2 separate regions of the Homo sapiens genome follow, and region 1 is linked to region 2. The links are contacts of gene promoters, found by promoter capture Hi-C in blood cells and fetal thymus (Javierre and others, 2016). All regions are on one chromosome and are shown on one strand. The core of a region is centred on a gene start or on the middle of the fragment in contact, and the rest is flanking DNA. Distances in the headings are between cores, read along the strand shown.

The links. The method cuts DNA at HindIII sites, captures the fragments that hold promoters and counts their contacts. A CHiCAGO score of 5 or more calls a contact.
Region 1: a fragment that was not itself captured here is called in contact with the fragment with the promoter of STK32A in region 2 in 2 of 17 cell types (M1 macrophages and M0 macrophages); the score reaches 5.9 in M1 macrophages.

Annotation. Positions count from the first base shown.
Region 1 is chr5:147,454,198-147,458,633 of GRCh38, forward strand. The region is part of intron 1 of DPYSL3 (dihydropyrimidinase like 3); the gene reads right to left. Among named protein-coding and RNA genes, the nearest start is that of DPYSL3, 54 kb to the right of the region's middle. RefSeq lists a silencer at 1-31 and an enhancer at 1,750-2,251. The HindIII fragment of the contact is 650 bases long and covers 1,114-1,763 here.
Region 2 is chr5:147,233,299-147,237,827 of GRCh38, forward strand. It overlaps STK32A (serine/threonine kinase 32A), which reads left to right and starts at 1,728. Exons shown (of 13, transcript NM_001112724.2): 1 at 1,728-1,901. STK32A-AS1 (STK32A antisense RNA 1) reads right to left here and starts at 1,561. Exons shown (of 4, transcript NR_147190.1): 1 at 1,415-1,561. The HindIII fragment of the contact is 14,744 bases long and covers 1-2,860 here.

The DNA of each region.
Region 1 (4,436 bases), core at 189-2,688, 220 kb after region 2:
GACGGTTCCCGGCTTCCCTCCCGGCACCCGCTCTCCTCTGCCATGGCGCGGGTCGAATGCGGCGGCCGCGCCTTTGTTCGAGAGGAGGGCTGGGCGCCGCCTCTGCTGCTCGCGGGGTGGTAAACAGCGGCGCAGCCCCTTCAGACGCCGGAGACTGGTCCGACTCTGCAACCTGGCGGGCCTGCTGGGGTCCCCAGACCCGGAACATACACATTAGAAAATGGAAAGCCGTGACTCGCTCTCAGAGGCTGCAAGGGGCACGGTAGCAGTGGACTCAACCATTCCCTGTATTTAAAAAATATCCAAGTAGTATCTTGTTAAAGAAACTCCACTGCCTGACTGAGTCTCAGAATCAAAGAAAGAACATGAATGCTGCTCTGTGAGTAAAAAGTAGAAAACACCTGTGGAGTGGGAAGGCAGTAGCCCAGACACGTTCCTGGTGCGCAGCCATGGATTTGGAGTAGAACTGCTATTGCTCCCCATCAGTAATGAACCACGTGCACTGCTCACAATCCCGAGTTTACTTTAGGCAGGGCTGACAGACGAAGGTTTATATGTTATTACAAGCAAAACCATGGCCCTTCGGCGATGGAATACATTGTCCTTTAGCTACCTGCTAAAATCAAACGGCCAAAGGGAGACATATTTGGAGAGGCCACTGTGGGTGGGGTCTGAGTGGTGGCTGGGGGTGAGGGAGCTCCTCAACTCTCACGACAAATAATTCCAAACATAAAATTTAAGGAACCAAAAAAAGACTTGCTATGCAAAAAAAATTATAAAACCCTTTGAAGACAATTTTCCCACCGCTCCCCAATTGTCAATCTTAATGTTCTATTAAATAGAAATCCTGTATGTCACTAAGCATGACTAAAGCTGTGTTGAATCTTGAATTCACGTTTCCATAAGGCAGCCCACTGATGGCAATTCTAGACATCTTGTCATTAAAGTGAAGACGTGCTTGCGATAAAGAAACTATATAAGGCATCCACAGAAAGAGAATACAGAATACTCCGGCTTGGGCTTTCCATAAACCCGAAACGAACCAGACTGGTCACATAATCCAAGGACACACAAAGCCCCCCTTAAACACTCCCTCTCAAGTGAGTTAATCCAAGCTTCTGGTTATTTATGGTTAATTGGACTGAATGCAGTCTTCGCAAGAAAAGTCCACAGCAGTCTCCACTTTATTTCTGTGATACTCTGCAAAGGAGGATGAATGCCAAGCAAAGATCACCTCCCTATACTCTTGCAAAACACAAGGGGGAATAAAAAGACTGGGCCAAAGGCACGCCCTAAACATTTTGCTTTGTTCTTAAAGCGTAAGTGCTGAGACCACTAGCCAAGAGTTGTGAAATTACAAAGCATTCTGGGGATTGGCATGCAAATGAGCAGGATTATATTTAGAACAGAGTAAAAGGAGAATTAACTACATACTATGGAAACCAGCAGAGCTCTCTCTCTCTGCATCTTTCCTGTAGATTTTACTGCCCCAAACTTGCTGGAAAGGATCTTGCACATTTTTCTCAAGAAAAGCAAAAATATGTAGGGGACATTTACAATCCTAAAAAAAAAATACCGCTGCTGCTGCCTTTTTTTTTAATTTTACAAGTTTCTTTGCCTTTCTTACATCTGAGTTATCTCCTCTGTTACCATCATTATAATCCAGAACACTCTTTACTAAATAGATTTATACCATATTTTTGATCACTTGATTGTGTGTGTGTGTGTGTGTGTGTGTTGTTTCAAATAACAAGACTTGGTTAAGCTTTTTTGAGGTCAGGTTTGCATGCAAGAGGCCATGCTGAATGGCAATTGCAATGTGTTCTTCTGGATCCGGCTGCTGTGACCAGCCAGACACAGAAACACAGCAAATTGATTCAAGCTGTTGCCATCATCAGAAATGTACAACAAACACTATTTTCCTTGTTTCATCCCCTTCAATTATCTTTCACTTTCTTGAACCAAAATAAAGCCTCTAAGATGAATTTGAAGGAAAAAGCCTTCCTTGGCCATAAGAAAGGCAGCCATCAACACAGGATGCCTCTGTGTCTGGCCAAGAGAGAGAAGAATGGAACCAGTATGGATGTTTTCCACAGTAGAATGACTCTGAATGGTTTTCCTTGGATACACAGCAGTGCTTGGCTTTAGGTATCTCAGTAAACTGAAAGAGGGAGAGGAAGATGTAGAAATAGACTTGATTTACAGTCCCAAAGAAACTTAATTTTGGCTACCACACCTGCCACACCACAGATTTCCACACTTAAATCAATGGGTACTCCATTCCAGTTGCTCAGGCGAAAGGTTTGGCACCATCCTTGATTTCTCTCCTTCAATCATGCCCCTACTCTCCACAGACAATCTTTCAGCAAATGCTACTGATTCTATTTTTTTTTTTTTTTTTTTTTTTTTTGAGACAGAGTCTCGCTCTTGTTGCCCAGGCTGGAGTGCAGTGGGGTGATCTCGGCTCACAGCAACCTCCGCCTCCCAGGTTTAAGCAATTCTCCCGCCTCATCCTCCTGAGTAGCTGGCATTACAGGTGTCTGCCACCACACCTGGCTAATTTTTGTACTTTTAGTAGAGAGGGGGTTTCACCATGTTGGCCATGCTGGTCTCGAACTCCTGACCTCATGTGATCTGCTTGCCTCAGCCTCCCAAAGTGCTGGGATTACAGGCATGAACCACCGCACCCAGCCAGTTCTATCTTTTAAATGTATCCAGACTATGGTCTCCTCTCATGATTTGCAAAGTTTCTTCCTGTGTTTAGCCATCATTTGGCTATCACCTGAATTATTGTAACCTCCTAACTGGGTTCTCTTCCTCACCATCACTCATTCATTCATTCATTCATTCATTCATTCTCAAAATATTCACACAATATTTACCTTGTGCTTACTATGTGCCATTATTTTTATCAGTGTTAGTGCAATGGAGGTGAATAATAAGTCCCAAATATCATGGAGTTTACTTCGTATTCTTCTTATTATATAATAATAACGCATATCCTTATTACACCACCTGTCACTTGCTAGCCCCCTTTCCTGCTTTATCTTCATAATACTTTTTACCACATGACATATTAATTTATTATTGAATATTCTCCCCATCACCAGAATATAAGCTATTTGAGGGTATGTGATGTGTCTGTTTATTTACTGAATGCCTGAAATAGAGCCTTGTCCATAGAAATTGCTCAATAATTATTAGGGGAGTGAATGTAAGAATTTTTTAAAATTGCATCTGGAGAAAGATTAAATAGGTGAAGAAGAACTTTTCTGGAACTAAAGGGCATGTAGTTAGAATGTAGATTTTACAGTATCTATATTTGCTTCTCTATGCATTTTTAGAGTTTCCTGATTCTAGATTTCAGAGCAGATGAATTAAGATGGCGAAGAATCACTTTGCTAATATGATACAGTCCAAAAATTTCAGAGCAACATATGGGCCAAAGAAAGGCTCAGTAGAGTAGAATTGGTACCTGGGCACTGATTAGTTTTATGCCAATGAGGCTGATTCAGTCAGGAGAGGAAACTTTATGAGGCAGGAGAGAAGTAGGTCAATGGCTCTATGAAAGTTCCAGAATAGGCAACTCAGGTGACATTTATTGTTTGAGTGGAGGGCTTGCCCTTAGCTAGAAACAAGACTGGTTCCTCCACAGTCACTGAAGAGGAGAATATCTTTGCACAGAGTCCAGTAGCTGGGTATATTTCCGGGAAGGACTTCATGGAATTTGTCTTCTGACTCCATCTATTTTTTCTGCCATCAGCTAAGACCATCTAGGAAAGAAGGTATTGGGAGAGGGAGGAGGAGTTCATATGAAAATCATTTTCCAGGACAGTAAAGGAACTAGGAAAATATGGTATGATTATCTGGCAGTGTCAGAGGCGTGTTAACCAGAGCAACTCCATCTTGAATAGGAGCTGTGTAAAATGAGGCCGAGACCTGAGACCTACTGGGCTGCATTCCCAGATGGTTAAGGCATTCTAAGTCACAGGATGAGAGAGGAGGTCGGCACAAGATACAGGTCATAAAGACCTTCCTGATAAAACAGGTTGCACTAAAGAAGCTGGCTAAATCCCACCAAAACCAAGATGGCGACAAGAGTGACCTTTGGTCGTCCTCACTGCTACACTCCCACCAGCGCCATGACAGTTTACAAATACCATGGCAACGTCGGAAGTTACCCTAGATGGTCTAAAAAGGGGAGGCATGAATAATCCACCCCTTGTTTAGCATATCATCAAGAAAGAATCATAAAAACAGGCAACCAGCAGATCCTCGGGGCTGCTCTGTTTATGGAGCAGCCATTCTTTTGTTCCTTTACTTTCTTAATACACTTGCTTTCATTACTCTATGGACTCACCCTGAATTCTTTCTTGCACAAGATCCAAGAACCCTCTCTTAGGGTCTGGATCGAGACCCCTTTCCGGTAATAGCAG
Region 2 (4,529 bases), core at 478-2,977:
CACTGTATATTCTTCCTAATAGGCAGCATAGTAGAGGTTTATATTACTACCAATATCGCAGAAGGTGCACACACACCTGTGATATACTTCCTAATATCCAGCGGGAAAGAGGCTGCTATTACTTTCAATATCGCAGTGGGTGTACATCCCCCCTGTGGTTTTGCTCCTAATATCCAGGGGGGAAGAGATGATATTACTGACAATATCACAGGGGGTGTACACCTCTTCTGTGATATGGTTCCTGATATAAAGGGGGAAAGTGGATGATATTACTCTTAATAACGTAGGAAGTGTACACCCACCCTGTGATTTTGTCCCTAATAACCTCATGGGGAGAGGTGATATTACTCCCAATATTGCAAGGGGTGGACACCCCACAAGTCATATTGTTTCTTAAATCCAGGAAGGGAAAAGATGGTATTACTACCAATATTCAAAGGATGTACAGAACGCATTTCTTATTGTTCTTAATATCCAGGTCGAAAGGAGATAACATTACTTTTAATATAATAAGGGTGGTACACCCTGCCTGTGATATGATTCCTAAAATCTAGAAGAAGAGAGAATGATATTACTTCCAATAATACACTGGGTGTGCAACCCCCTTTGATATTGTTCCTAATATCTAAAGAAAGAGATGATGATATTACTCCCAATACTGTAGAAGGTATACACCGTCCTGTGATATTGTTCCTAATAACTAGTGGGTGAGGGCATGATATTATTTCAAATATCGCAGTGGCTTTACACCCCTTCCGTGATATTTCTCCTAATTTCCAGGGGGTGGAGTACGAAGTTACTCCCAATATAGTAGTGGGTGTACACCCACGCTGTCACATTTCTACGAATATTCAGGGAAACACAGCACGATAGAACTCCAAGTCTCGCAAAGAGTGTACACCATTTTGTGATATTGTTCCTAATAACCGGAGGTGGATAGGATGCTGTTAGTTTCAATATCGCAGGCTGTGTACACACACACTGTGAAATTGTTTCTAATGTCCAAGAGGGGAGAGAATGCTATTAATTCCCATATAGCAAGAGGGTGAGGCACACCCCGCCATATGGGGAGTAATAGGACCCCCCCTCCCTCCCTGGCTACTACGAGCCACATCGCTGGGGTGTGAGGCACCCTCCTGCCATATGGGGATTAATAGCGTCCCCCTTTCCCCCCCGACTATTACGATCCACATCGCAGGGGAGTGAGGCTTCCCCCGCGATATGAGGAGTAATAGCACCGCCCTCTCCCCCTCAACCCCCCGGCTTTTAGGATCCACATCGCAGGGGGGTGAGGCACCCCCGGCGATATGGAGAGTAATAGCACCCCCCTTCTCCCCCCCCCCCCCCCCCGGCTATTACGATCCACATCGCAGGGGGGGTGAGGCAGTTCCCGTGATATGGGGCGTAATAGTACCCGCTGTGCGTCCTGGTGGCTCCGGACCCGGCCCAAGCGCGGCGGGACCTCCATCCGTAGCCCTCTCCCCCAACGTCGCCCTCCCGGGGTCCTTGTCTAGTCTCAGCAGGCGGCAAACGGACCCCAGGCGTCTGGCGCTCACCCAGGAGACTGCCCAGCGGTTTCTGGAGAGAGCGCTAAGCGGAGACGCCCGCTGGCAAGCAGATCCCGCCTCCTTCCCTGGCCAAGGAGCCGCCCCTCCGGGGTAGCTGTGCGCTGGGCGGCGCTCGGACCCCTTGGCAGCCGCAGGTGCCTCCCCAGCCCAGCCCAGCTCAGTCCAGCGCAGCCCAGCCCAGCCCAGCCCGGCGCTCGCAGCCTCCGCCGCTTCCGGGCAGATAGGTGCCTTTTCTTGCTCCTTGCTCTTGGAGTTCTTCTCTTAGTCCCTGTTCCCTGGATGAAAGCATCGCTCCGAGCCTCATGGGAGGAATGAAGGAAGAATCGAGACTAGGTGAGTGGTGGTCTAGATTTAACGAATAATAACAATAAACCTGCATACTAAGGGTACTGTTGGGAAGCTAGGAAGTGCAAGGAGAAGAGAAGACAAAGGCTGCTGATCAAGATAACTCACAAAACTAAATGCAGGCTAGGGCCAATTCCAGCTATTTTGCACTCCATCCAGGTTCCCCTGCCTGGCACTGACTCATGTGCAGACCCAGACAGACTTCAATAAATATTTGCTGGGTTGAGACAAGTGAGTGGAGGTGTTTCTGCTTGTTCTCCAGCATCTAAACAAGCAAAACCTAGCTGCCTTTGATGATTGCTTCATCTCCACAAGGACTTTTTCCCCCAGGACTTAAAAAATAAAATGTGGTGTATTCACACAACGGACTGCTATGCAGCACTTAAAAAGCTAAAATCAGAGCTGTAGGGATCAGCATGCCTGTACCTAGATTTCAGAAGTATGATGGCAGATAGACACAGCAAGATGCAAAATATATCCACTCTCTCATGCCATTTAGGTGACTTATTTTAAGACACTTGTCATGTTTGTAAAATCATAGAAGGGGGACTGTAAAATGTTTATCACATCCGTGATTGTGGCTGTCTTTGGAAAGTGTGAAAGGGAAATCAATTGGACTTTAGGATTAAGGTGGAAATAATATTTCCCTAAAATGCTTTAAAAATAAAAATGATGATATAAAGATGACCAAATATAAACAATTGTTAACTGAGAGTGTTATTAACTTGGGCATTTTTCATGTTTTTGCCCCCTATTTTTAAAATATTTCTTAAACTAAGAAGTTCTGTTTTTCAAATGCAAACAAAATAAGTTGTGTCTATGCACATTCTGTGACAATGAAACCTAAAATGTTTAATCAAAAGTTGCAACTTTCTTGCATCACCTCCTATGTTTTCCAATCCTAGAAGACCACACCTCTTTATCTAGGGAGGCTTGGTGGTTAGAGAAGCTTACCTGTTGACAACCCCCAAATTACAGGCCAAAGATGAAAGGTTGGTATTAGGGAACTATTTCCCAGTTAATAATCTGATAATCGGCCAGGTCAGGGTAGACTCTGAAAACTCCCTGTGTCCCTGCAAGACAAATTTCTCCTCCTTTTACATTTCATATGCTTTGGATTTTCATTTTCATGGATGGTAGCTGTCCTCTTCACATCTCAAAATGATGCTTAGGTAACACTGCAGACCTAGTGCCTGGAGATCAGGAAGGGCTGGGGGGTTGGTAAAAGAGAGTCCTACAGCTCTACTGGGCTCTTCAGCAGAATGGAAAGGACATGTCTCCATTTTCCTGCGAGAGAAAGGTAGATTTCTTTCTGAATATGAAAAAAAAAATCTAATTTGGTTATCCACATGGGAGAGAAAATGAAAAATAATTTTAAACTGGATTGTGTATGTTAGGTGCAATGAAGAAGATACTAAACGACCACCCAGTGGTTCCATCTGCTTCCCCCTTCCACAGACACACACAAAAATGGTTCCCTGTTTGCATATTATCTTCCCACTAAAAATCACTTGGTCCGTGGTGAACAAAATTGTGTGCACATCAGAATGAAATTCTGAAACATGGAAAATTGCGATAATATTCCTTCCTCTTTCTCTTTCTGATTCGACAACTTGCAAGGTCAGTGCTTGGTATATCTTATGTTGCAGGATGACAGGCTACTTGAGAAAAACCTGAGGTGTGAAGAAAGATATAAGAATGACAGGACTGGGGTGCATTGTGAAAACTACATGTACTCAGGTTTTAAGCACAAAATAAAAGACAATGTAGCCTCTGCCTGCAGTTAACAACTGCAAATCCTTAAAATTAATGTTCTCCCGGCCAGGCACGGTGGCTCAAGCCTGTAATCCCAGCACTTTGGGAGGCCGAGGTGGGTGCATCACAAGGTCAGGAGATCGAGACCATCCTGGCTAACATGGTGAAACCCCATCTCTACTAAAAATACAAAAAAATTAGCCGGGCATGGTGGCGGGTGCCTGTAGTCTCAGCTACTTGGGAGGCTGAGGCAGGAGAATGGCGTGAACCCAGGAGGCAGAGCTTGCAGTGAGCCGAGATGGTGCCACTGCACTCCAGCCTGGGCAACAGAGCAAGACTCCATCTCAAAAAAAAAAAATTAATGTTCTCTTTAGGACCATTCATCTCTTTCTAGTGCCATCAGTGGTTCAGTCCTTACACTATCCCTCATTTGGATTTTAAATGCAATAATAAAGCACAAAGACCACCCCATTTGCTTCTCCCTAACTCACAATAAAACACTCACAATAAAAAGTGCATCCCACTTACTTCTTAACTCCCTTGTCTGCTGGAGTTAAACTCTTTTTGATTTTTTATCCTGGAGAAATGGTTGAGTTCTATCTTCCTGGGTCTCAATAATTCCACTGAGCTTCCATCAGCCACCTGTGACCACCTACCCCTACTCACTCCCTCTCTCATACCATTTAATTGGTTGCTTCCTAATTAATGACTCTCTTTGCTCTCTATTTAATGATTCTTGCTAAAGTCCATAAGGCACTTTGCCAGCAGTTGGTTTTTAGTATGAAAAGTAGCATTTCCTTAATGAGTCTGAGTCTGCCTTCCAAATGAAGGGTTTACTTACATTTTCCTAATGGGAAAACG